2 separate regions of the Homo sapiens genome follow, and region 1 is linked to region 2. Evidence: promoter capture Hi-C in human tissues and cell types (Jung and others, 2019). All regions are on one chromosome and are shown on one strand. The core of a region is centred on a gene start or on the middle of the fragment in contact, and the rest is flanking DNA. Distances in the headings are between cores, read along the strand shown.

Evidence for each region. Contacts are between HindIII fragments. The study calls those that stand out against the background at their distance.
Region 1: a fragment that was not itself captured here is called in contact with the fragment with the promoter of BEST1 in region 2 in 1 of the 25 tissues and cell types used here (liver).

The regions. Positions count from the first base shown.
Region 1 is chr11:61,630,491-61,636,425 of GRCh38, reverse strand. It overlaps the pseudogene RPLP0P2. Among named protein-coding and RNA genes, the nearest start is that of DAGLA, 47 kb to the left of the region's middle. The HindIII fragment of the contact is 4,659 bases long and covers 1-4,555 here.
Region 2 is chr11:61,945,775-61,951,602 of GRCh38, reverse strand. It overlaps BEST1 (bestrophin 1), which reads right to left and starts at 1,252. Exons shown (of 11, transcript NM_004183.4): 1 at 1,176-1,252. It also overlaps a transcript of RAB3IL1 not described here. RefSeq lists a silencer at 5,391-5,554. The HindIII fragment of the contact is 11,891 bases long and covers 1-5,828 here.

The DNA.
Region 1 (5,935 bases), core at 977-3,476, 320 kb after region 2:
CACACCCAGTTGCTCACACAATCACACCCACACACACTGACACACACATGGGCCCCACACTCCATCCACACCTGGAACCTCAGAGCTCAGTAGGGATTTGATACTCAGTCCTTCAAACCAGCTTCTCATCGAGGGGGTGGGCGGAGAGGAGTTATAAGAGCAATTGCTGTAATCCAATCGTCTCTGCTTTTCTTGTTTTCTTCTCTCTGAATACACTTTGCATTAAGGGCTTGTCTTCTTGGTTCCCATGAGAACGCTGTGCTTTTTCTTAAATGAAGGTTCGTTGATCGTTTTTTCCTGTTATTACAAAAGCAATTTGTGCCACTGCAAAAAAGCACAGAGAAGCCAAGAGAACAAAAACTCCTCCCTCCCCTCCTCCAGGGACAGCCCAGGCTGACAGGTGTGGCACTGTCCTCCCCACACCCCTCCTCCCCAGCACACCCTCCTCCTGCCATGGAGCCCCGGCGTCCTCATCAGGCCTAAGCTGCTTCTTCCAGATGGGGCTCCCAGGCTGGGAGTCAGAGGCTGGATCTTTGTTCTGCCTCATCACTGGGTCCCACATGTCCTTGGCAGGTCCTCACCATTTTGGGGTGGGAAGGGGATGATCTCAAAGGGTCTTCTGCCCTCACACTCAAGGATCCTGTTCTCTTATTCCAGACATGAATCTGGGGCTGGGCCAAGCAGCAGCTATTAGGAGTTCCTAGGTAACAAGGGGTTCTCCTAGAATAATCTGGAGACCAGGGGAGGTATGGAACCCAAAGCCTCACTCATCGCCAGCATTGAACAGAGAGGCAACCCTCCCAAGGACAGAGAGCTGAGCCCATTATAAAGATTCTGGTGTCCTGTGTCACAGTCCCAGCCAGCTTCATGGTTGTGCAGCCTTTGCAGCTGCAGAGGGCCCTACACTCCAAAGGGCTAGAGCTTGATTTAATGCTCTGCTGTCAACACCTTGAAATTCTTCATGATGTGTGAGCAAGGGCCCCACATGTTCATTTTGCACTGGGCTCTGCAAAGTATGTAGCTGTCCCTGTTCCTAATAATAATAATACCTGTTACTGACATACAGCTTGCTGTATAGCCAGCACTGCATATTTTTCCTATATACTGTATAATTCACCTGTCCCTCACAGAAGCCCGGTGTAAATTGCCTCTCTTAGATTTGGCCAGCCCAGGTGATAATGTGAACTGGGTGCTAGGCACTTTAGATATGTGACTCTCTGGAGGCTTTCAGCAGTACCAGAAGCCATTGTAAGCCAGGCACCATGGCTCATGCCTGTGATCACAGCACTTTGGGAGGCTGAGGCAGGTGGATCACCTGAGGTCAGGAATTCAAGACCAGCCCTGGCCAACATGGGGAAACCCTGTCTCTATTAAAAATACAAAAATTAGCTGGGCGTGGTGGCGGGTACCTGTAATCCCAGCTACTCGGGAGGCTGAGGCAGGAGAATCACTTGAACCCAGGAGGCGGAGGTTGCAGTGAGCCGAGATTGTACCACTGCACTATAGCCTGGGCAACAGAGCAAGACTCTGCCTCAAAAAAAAAATTATAGATGGGGCACATTATAGATGAGGCATGAAGTCTGGGGAGGTTAACTCCCCTGCAGTTGCAGAGCTAGTGAGGAGCCCACAGACCCTCCCCTCCCTGCCCAGCTGGCCAAGGGCCACCCCAGGGGCTCTGCAGCCCTCATCCTGCCCTAGCCACCATCCCAGCTGTGGTGGGCACCTGGCAGTGCCTAGGGGGGTGAGAAGCTCCACCCACACTGTCAGTTCCCATTTCCACCACCTCCTGATCTGCCAGCAGTTGCTGCACTTCACCACTTCCTGTGCCCAGGTGTGCAATTGGCTTCCTACATGGGGCACGGAGCCGTGGGGCCAAGAGGTGTCAGTCTCCATTTCTCCCCACTGTGCTGAGCTCCCAAGCATTCTTTTTTTTTTTTTTTTTTTTTTTTTTTTTTTTTGAGGTGGATTCTCGCTCTGTCACCCAGGCCGGAGTGTAGTGGCACAATCTTCGGCTCACTGCCACCTCTGCCTCCTGAGTTCAAGTGATTCTCCTGCCTCAGCCTCCCGAGTAGCTGGGACTACAGGCACATGCCACCATGCCTGGCTAATTTTTGTATTTTTAGTAGAGATGGGGTTTCACTATATTGGCCAGGCAGGTCTCGAACTCCTAACCTCATGATCTGCCTGCCTCAGCCTCCCAAAGTGTTGGGATTACAGGCGTGAGCCACTGTGCCTGGCCTGCTCCTGAGCATTCTATGCTACAGGTGTGGCTCCAGGAACTCTGGTTCATCAAAGCTGGTTTCATTTATTTATTTATTGAGACAGGGTCTCATTCTGTCGCGCAGTGCAGTAGCACCATCACGGCTTACTGCAGCCTCAACCACCCAGACTCAGGCCGTCCTCCCACCTCAGCCTCCCAAGTAGCTGGGACCACAGGTACGCATCACTACGCCTGGCTAATTTTTGTATTTTTTGTAGAGACGAGGTCTTGCTACGTTGCCCATACTGATCTTGAACTCCTAGACTCAAAGGATCATCCTGCCTCAGCCTCCCACAGGGTGGGGGTACTCAGCCCCCAATGCTGGTTATTGCTGAGGTAGCCCAGACAGAGATGGTTGATGCCAGAGTGAGCCCAGGCAGCTGGAATTGGAGTGGACAGAATAGCACTAGGAGACCCTCACACACCCAGGCTGACTTGCTCAGCATCTCTGTCTCAGCTCCCAAATCTGTAACATGGGGTAAAGCAGCGTTCCCCAAACTTTTTGGCATCAGGGACCTGTATAAGGAGTGCATAAGGCCAGGAGCGATGGCTCACGCCTGTAATCTCAGCACTTTGGGAGGCTGAGGTGGGTGGATCACCTGAGGTCAGGAGTTTGAGACCAGCCTGACCAACATAGAGAAACACCATCTCTACTAAAAAAAACACAAAATTAGCCAGACGTGGTGGTGAGTGCCTGTAATCCCAGCTTCTCGGGAGGCTGAGGCAGGAGAATTACTTGAACCCAAGAAACGGAGGTTGTGGTGAGCCAAGAACGCACCATTGCACTCCAGCCTGGGCAACAGGAGCGAAACTCCATCTCAAAAAAAAAAAAAAAAAAAAAGTGCATAATCTAGATCCCTTACATGCGCAGTTCACAGTAGGGTTCGTGCCCCTATGAGAATCTAATGCTGCTGCTGATCTAACAGGAGGCGGCACTCAAGCAGTAATGAGAGTGATGGGGAGAGGCTGTAAATACAGATGAAGCTTCTCTCGCTTGCCCTCCGCTCACCCCATGCCGTGTGGCTCAGTTCCTTACAGGCCACAGACCAGTACCAGTCTGCAACCTGGGAGCTGGGGACCCCTGGGATAAAGAAACCAGTCCAGCAGTTAAGAATTTGAGGTTTGGGAATACAACACCCTGAGTTCAAGTCCCAGGCCCAGCACTTAACAGCCATATGACCTTGCGCAGGTTGCAAAACTGAACTTCAGTGTTCTCCATAAAAACACAGCAAAAATGGAGGCATTCTAGTTAAGAACTCAGGCCCGGCAGACCGACAAGAGTTCAAATCCCACCTTGAGCACTTATTAATTATGGTAGCTTGTACAAGTTATTTCACTTTTCTGAGCCTTGGTTTCCTTGTCTGCCAAATGCAGATAATCCCTGCAGCATCCTCATGGGGTTTTGTGAGGACCAAATGGCCTGGTGCCTGTGGAGTCCTTTTCTCAGTCCCTGGCACTTAGTAAGTGCCCAATAAGCCGTTACAACAAGTGCAAACGGATGGGATTGCTGGGACGTCATGAGAGCAAGTGCCCTGCCAGAAGGGTCTGTGTCAGGACAAGCCATGGAATAAGAAAGCCAAGCACAATAGCCAGGTGGCCCTGGGAATTGGTGGCTGAGGCCTGGGAGGGCTGCTTATTGAGTGAGGTCCAGGGACTAAGCCACCAAGAGGCCATTGACAGGTCCATGGGGACAGCTTCATTTAATGGGAACTGTGGCAGTGGGATGAGAGAGACAAAACCAGGCTCACATCAGCCTGGGCTGCCTCCCAGCCTCTCAGCTACCTCTCCTGCCGGGCTCTGGGGTCAGGCTTCCCTCCCCCAACTCCCGCCAGATGCCACTCTGTAAACCCTGAAGCTGTGCTCCCACGCTGCACTGCACCGCGCACATGAATTCCCCGAGGAATTTCTTAATGCGCTGATTCAGATTCAACCGTGGGGGTGGCCCGAGACCCTGCATTTCTAATCAGCTCCAAGGAATGCGAGACCACGCTTTGAGTAGCAGCATCTAAAACATGATATAAATGTAGGTCATGAAAATTAATAATAATGTGGGGTGTGGAGTTACTACCGGATCTGACTAGCAGACTTTGAGAGAGAGCCTGTCTAGGAGAAAATTCTCCCCAGAGGTCAAAAGGAACCCCCACCCCACGTTCTGGGGGTGCTAGGATCTGATTTTGCTCCTAATAGCAAAGAGACAGGCAGAGGGTACCTTTCAGCTTGAGCCACACGGATGGCGGTTCCCAAACTGCAGACCACACACCAGCTGCATCAGAAGTACTTGAGGATTCGTTTTTTGGGTTTTTTTTTTTTTTGGTTTGTTTGTTTGTTTTTTGAGATGGAGTCTCAGTCTGTCACCCAGGCTGGAGTGCAGTGGCACAATCTTGGCTCACTGGAACCTCTGCGCCCTGCTAATTTTTGTATTTTTAGTAGAGACGGGGTTTAACCATGTTGGCCAGGCTGGTCTTGAACTCCTAACCTCAAGTGATCCGCCTGCCTCGGCCTCCCAAAGTGCTGGGATTACAGGCAGGAGCCACTGTGATGACTGAATTTTTTAAAATTACCGATTCTGAGTCACAAAAAGACAGATCCTGTAGACTCCCTTATATGAAGTATCTAAAGCAGTCAAATCCATAGAAACAGAAGTAGAATGCTGGTTGCCAGGGGCTGGCTGGGAGGGAGAATGGAAAATTGTTGTTTAATGGGTATAGAGTTTCAGATTTCCAAGATGAAAAAGTTCTGGATGTCTGCTTTACAATGGCGTGAATATACTTAACAATACTGAACTATCCACTTAAAGATGGCTAAGATGATAAATTTTATGTTATATGTTTTTTCTTTACCATAATGATAGACAGAGTCTTGCTCTGTCACCCAGGCTGGAGTCCAGTGACCCAGTGGCTCTCAACTCACTGCAGCCTCCGTCTCCCAGGTTCAAGCCTCAGCCTCCCGAGTAGCTGGGATTACAGGCGCGTGCCACCACACCCGGCTAATTTTTGTATTTTTAGTAGAGACAGGGTTTCACCATTTTAGCCAGGCTGGTCTTGAACTCCGGGCCTCAGGTGATCCACCCGCCTCAGTCTCCCAAAGTGCTGGATTACAGGCATGAGCCACCATGCCCGGCCTCGTAATGATAATCAAAAAAAAAAAAAAAGATCCTGGGCCAGGCACGGTGGCTCACACCTGTGATCCCAGCACTTTGGGAGTCTGAGGCAAGTGAATCACCAGGTCAGGAGTTCAAGAAAAACCTGGCCAACACGGCAAAATCCCATCTCTACAAAAAATACAAAAAGTTAGCTGGGCGTAGTGGCAGATAACTGTAATCCCAGCTACTCGGGAGGCTGAGGCAGGAGAATCACTTGAACCCAGGAGGTGGAGGTTGCAGTGAGCCGAGATCACGTCACTGCACTCCAGGCTGGGGGACAGAGTGAGACTCCATCTAAACAAAACAAAACAAAACAAAACAAAACAAAAAAACAGATTCTGGCTCTAGCCCCTGAGATCCCGTTTAAGGGCATCTTGAGTAGACCCCAGAAACCTATTTTTTTAAAATCTGCCCGGGGAATTTGGGTGCACAGCCAGGCTTGGGGACCACTGGCCAGGGGGAAGCTTTCCTCCAAATATCTCTGGAATCCTTCCACCTCTCCCACCTCCACCTCCGTCTCCACGGCTGAGACT
Region 2 (5,828 bases), core at 3-2,502:
ACGCAAGAAAGTGAGCCCAGAGGCTGCCCTTTGCTTTGGCAGGGAAGACGTAGATAGGCGTGTGCATTGCCATGTGCCTTTAACTTTCTATAATCACTGGGCGCAGTGGCTCATGCCTATAATCCCAGCACTTTGGGAAGTCGAGGCAGGTGGATCACCTAAGGTCAGGAGTTCGAGACCAGCCTGGCCAACATGGTGAAACCCTGTCTCTACTAAAAATACAAAAAAATTATCCAGGCGTGGTGCGGGTGCCTGTAATCCCAGCTACTCAGGAGGCTGAGGCAGGAGAATCGCTTGAACCCAGGAGGTGGAGGTTGCAGTGAGCTGAGATCACGCCATTGCACTCCAGCCTGGGTAAGAAGAGCAAAACTCTGTCTAAAAATAAATAAATAAATAAATAAATAATACAATGACAAAGGCAGTAACAGCAGCAATGTCTACACACTAAGCTCAGGTCCTCTGGGCTAGGCAGTGTTCTCAGCCCATCTTGTTCGTTAGCTCCCAAGCTCTCTCAACCACCCTAGTGTGAGAAGTATGGAAGGGACCAGGCAGCCCTGTCCACCACCATATTCCCATTCCCATAATGGAACCTAGCTGGTAGAGATGCTCAAATGATGTTTACTGAATGGTGGCTCCAGGGCCTTTCCACCTGCTGATCTTCCTGCCTGGAGGAAGCTCTTCCTGAGATACCTGCATGGTTCCTTCCCACTCCAGGTTCCCTTTAGAAAGGATGTTCCCAACCATCCAACCTGGAAATAGAGCCCCACTGCCACCGGTGCTCTGTGTCTCCTCACCTTGCTTGATATTTCTAGAGAGCACTTATCACTACTTGAAATTATACAGGATATCTGCCTGTTTCCTGCCTGTTTCCTCCTCAGAATGGAAGCTCCTCTTGTGTTCTCGTAGAAGGCGCTCAATAAAAATTTACTGAAGCAGTGATTGATGCCCCCTCCATTCTTTCCCTGTGTGTTTTGCTGCAGCCACACTGGCTGGCTGTGCCTGATGCACACCAAGCTCATTCCCACCTCAGGGCATTTGCACAGACACACAGGTGCCCACACACCTGCGCATGTGCTGCCTGTGTGTGCATATCCCACACAAATACGCAAGATGGCCATCCAACCCTGAAGGCCTCAAAGCCCCAGCCCAGTCCACCTGGGGCACCTTGTACTCACAGGTGGGGTTCCAGGTGGGTCCGATGATCCCACAGAAGGTCTGGCGACTAGGCTGGTGGGACTCCCTGGGACTCTGTGGCCAGTGCCCCTGCCCACTCTTAGAGGCTGGCACTGCCCACGTGAGTGCTGAGCCGCCGTCACTTGACTCCCTAAGCCAGGACCTCCACAAAGGAGTCCTTGTCTTAGTCCCTTCTTGTAATCTGCTCAGAAGCAACGGCTAGCACAGCCTGGCCATGGCCCCTCTAATTTCTTCTTGGAGGGTGTTGGGCTGAGACCAGGGCTGGAATTTAGGGCAACACCCCCTCTACCATGGCCCTAAAATCCAGAGGCTAAAGGATCTGCTCCACCAGTGTTCTGACCCCTGAGGCCTTGCAGAGAGAGTTGGGGGTTAGGGGGCTGTGCTGAGCTTCAACTTCTGTGCCAGGAACTCTCCAGGAAGGAGGAGCCTCTGACTAGGCCCTGGGGTCTTTGACAGCCCTGTGGGCTATGGAAAGAATGAATACCGGGCTGCAGTCAACAGTCCTGGTTTCTGGTCCCAGCCTTGCCACCTGTGTGTGGTGACCCCGGGTAGGTTTCAGCTCCTCTCTCAGCCTCAGTGCCCTTATCTGAAAAGGATGGTGTTGCTTGGGAATTTCATCACCCTAGTAAAATGACAGAATTCTGCATATGCTGACGAGGAGCTCTGATTGGCTGCTGGTGACATCATACGTTATTCTGGCTGTGATTGGCTGGCAGGGCCCATCAGTAAGTTGCTTCAGAGAGATGGAAGGAGAAGCCTGCCGGGGCTGGTGGAGGGGGGTGAGTCTGGTGGGGGTTGACAGAACAGCCCTGGAGTTTATGCTGCTGGCTTCCAGCCAGCCAGTGCAATATGGGAATAAATGCCCAGATCCCCACGGGCAGCTGGTGAAAATCTCAGCATGTGATTCAATAAATTTTAATACATCAATCCATACTCAAGGGCTCTCCTAAGCTGTTGGAAGTGGTGGGTGTCTACCTACACACTCCTCTTGTATTGTTCAATGAAGAGAGCAGAGCTCTAGGCAGCAGTGGTTCTTGGTCTTTAGAGGCCGTAAGAATCGCCCAAATGTTTATTAAACGGGCAGTTTTCTGGATCTTTCTCCAGAGTCTGAGTCTGTGGCCTTAGGGATGTTGCATTTTAATCAAGCACTGCAGGGGATTATGAGATGTGTGGTTTTGGGACTAAACTTCCAGAAGCCCTGATTTTATAATATGACCTTGTGTCTTAAACCCACTCTCATCCTCCCTTTCCTGTCACCCTCTCTCTCTGAAATGTACTAAGCGTTAACTATGCTGAGATTGCAGGTGATTTTTCTACACACCACTTTTTTTTTCACTTTAAGTTCTGGGATACGTGTGCAGAATGTACAGGTTTGTTACATAGGTATACATGATGTGCAGGTTTGTTACATAGGTATACGTGTGCCATGGTGGTTTGCTGCACCTGTCAACCCATCATCTAGGTTTTAAGCCTTGCGTGCATTAGGTATTTGTCCTAATGCTCTCCCTCCCCTTGTCCCCCACCCCCACACACCATTTTTGCCTTTATATAATTATCTGCCTAGAAAAAAAAACACTATTTCGCAATGACCTTGAATACTTTTCTAATCATGGCAAACAATAAAGCTGTTGTTATTATAAGACTCTCTTTAGAGGCAGCCTTGTAGGAGTATTTACTGCCTCCCCGCTGCCCCATCGCTGTCCTCAACTGATATGGGGAAAGAAGCAGGTTCACTTCAGCCTCAGTCTCCTCATATGCAAAATGGGACAACGATGCCTACCTTGGCAGCCGAATGAGAATGATGGATGGGACATGTGTCCGTCAACTCTCCAAACCACTGGTGCCTGTGCCTGACCCCTACGAATTCTGATTTGATTGGTCTGGATGGACCCCAGGTGTTGGGATTGTTCAAGTTCTCCAGGTGATTCTGATTTTATGGCCTGTGCTGAGTCATTGCTTAATGGATTATTTCCCTATCCTGTATTCCCTTCCCAACCAACACATCCTGAAACTCAAGAGCTTTCCATTTAGAAGATGATAAATATATATTATATATATTTATATATTAACATATGTAAATATGTATTAATATGTCTATAATATTACAAATATATTTGTATGTACACATATATTTATACATATAAATATATAAGTAAATATATAACTATATTTTTGAGACAAGGTCACCCAGGCTGGAGTGCAATGGGTGTGATTTTGGCTCATTGCAACCTCCACTTCCCAGGCTCAAGCAATCCTCCCATCTCAGCCTCCCAAGTCGCTGGGACTACAGACGCACACCACCACACCCAGCTATTTTTTTTTTTTTTATAGAGATAGGGTCTCACTACATTACCCAGGCTGGTATTGAGCTCTAAGTTCAAGCAGTCCTCCCACCTAGGCCTCCCAAAGTGGTGGGATTACAGGAGTGAGCCGCCACACTCGGCCAATAAGTATGTTTTAACTAAAGTTAACACACATGCCTGGCACCATGCCTGGAACATTGATGCTCATTCTGTACTCTCTGAAGGAATAAATGAAAATCCTGCCTTTGTGGAGACAAGTTCTTGCCTTCCCTGTGGTGGCCACTAGAGAGCGTGCTTGACTAGCTGGCTCTGGCTGGGGAAGCCTGGTTCACTGGTCAGGATCAGTGCAGACCACGGAGCTGGCACTGCTTCATCTCCCTGACCCCGACCAGCAGCCATAGAGCCATGAGAGGGAGTTGGAGACACTAGAGTCCCTCCTCCCTGTTCCCTGAACCGCAGGCTCCTTGGCAATATCCCAGGAGTACCACCAGGACCATAGACAGTGCATGGCCAGTCTCCCTTCCCCTCCCAGAGGCCCCAGCATGTCCCCAGAGACATCCCATGAGCAGCTGCTCCTGGCCCTGCCCCAGAGCTGAGACAGGCACACCCTGGCACAAGTCATGGTCTCTCCTACTGGGTCTCAGCTATGAAAATGTCCCCAGTTAGCCAGGCACGGCTCAGGCACACAGCAAAGTCATGAGTGCTGATTGACCCAAGCCATGCCTGGAACAAGAGTCCCAGGATTGACCCCTGCAGAGATGGCACCCAACCCAGTCAAGGTCGCCCTCTTCTGCTTTCCGTTCCGCAAAGAAAATATTCGCCAAACCATTTCTCCTTCCAGAACTGAGCCTAATCTGATTCCTGCCTGTACGTATTCATAGTCAAAAAATTTGGAAACACTTAAATAACAACTCTAACACAGAATGGCAAGGCCTAAGATCTGTGCCAAGTGCACAGAGGTCAGGGAAATTTTTACAGACAATGGGGCATTTCGGTTGGGTCTTGAAGCATGAGTAGGAGTTCATGGAGCTGAGAAGAATGGAAGAGCATTACACATCAGGGGAACAACCTACGGAAAGTCATAGAGCTATTCCTGAAGGATGATTCAGTATCGCATGTTTATCCACATTTTACAAAGGAGGACACTGAAGCTCAAGGCCTGCCTTGTCCAAGGTCACACAGCTATAAATGGCTTGAGACTAGGATCTAGGTCTTTTGATTTTGGATCCTGAGCCCTTTCCCACTATCAGCTCTACAGTAAAGGTCAGTTTCTGAGAGGTAGAGTCTTACCTGCTAGGGTAGTGGTCTCTCTTGGGGTTGAAGGGAGGTCCAAAGGATGGGGCCTGCATGAAAGATACTTTTTTTTTTTTTTTGAGACGGAGTCTCGCTTTGTTACCCAGGCTGGAGTGCAGTGGCATGATCTTGGCTCACTGCAACATCTGCCTCCTGGGTTCAAGTGATTTCCGGCTAAGTATTGTATTTTTAGTAGAGATGGGGTTTCACCATGTTGGCCAGGTTGGTCTTGAACTCCTGACCTCAAGTAATTCACCCGCCTCGGCCTCCCAAAGTGCTAGGATTGCAGGCATGAGCCACTGTGCCTGGCCGCATGGAAGAAACTTTGACTGCAGCAGATTCCAAGCTCTCGAGCTCCCCAGCAGAGAGCCATCTCTTGGGGCAGCAGGGCAGAGCTGGGGAGATGCGCGGGGGTGCCAGACACAGAATGCTATGGCCTTCTCATCTAGAATTACCATAGCAACAGGAGCATCACAGAGGGCCTGCCTCGGTGCCCTTCTAGGCCCTGCCTCAGCTGGGCAGGAAGAAGGAGACCCAGCTTGGCTGGGGGCAGTAGGCAGGGGGCCCCGGGGTAAGTCAGCCAGGCCTGGATGCTGCCTCCAGGCTTTATGTGGGACACCTGCCAGCCCACACCCCTCTCTTGGGCCAGTCACAGAACAAATAGGGCAGAGGCCAAGAAAGAAAAGGAGGGGGCTTGGCATAGCTGGACAGGGGTGCTGGGGGACACTGCCAGTCCAGGGCCCGGAAGCCAGACAGACAACAGCACCTCCACCCTGAGCTCAGGCAGCCCTGATCCCTGAAGGACGGAGTAAACTCAACATTCAAAGAGATAGAAACATAAGCCCTGGGCACCACAGAAAGACGACAGAAACCAGGAGAGGCTGGGATACACCTAGGTCCAACTTCATCAAACCCAGTCCTGCCCATGACAACGGAATAGCATGGAATAGACCAGAGCTGGACCAACTAGAGACACAAGGCAAGAGGATCCACTGTGCTGCGAGGTCCCCCATGGACTCTGCCAGGCTGCAGTCGGCC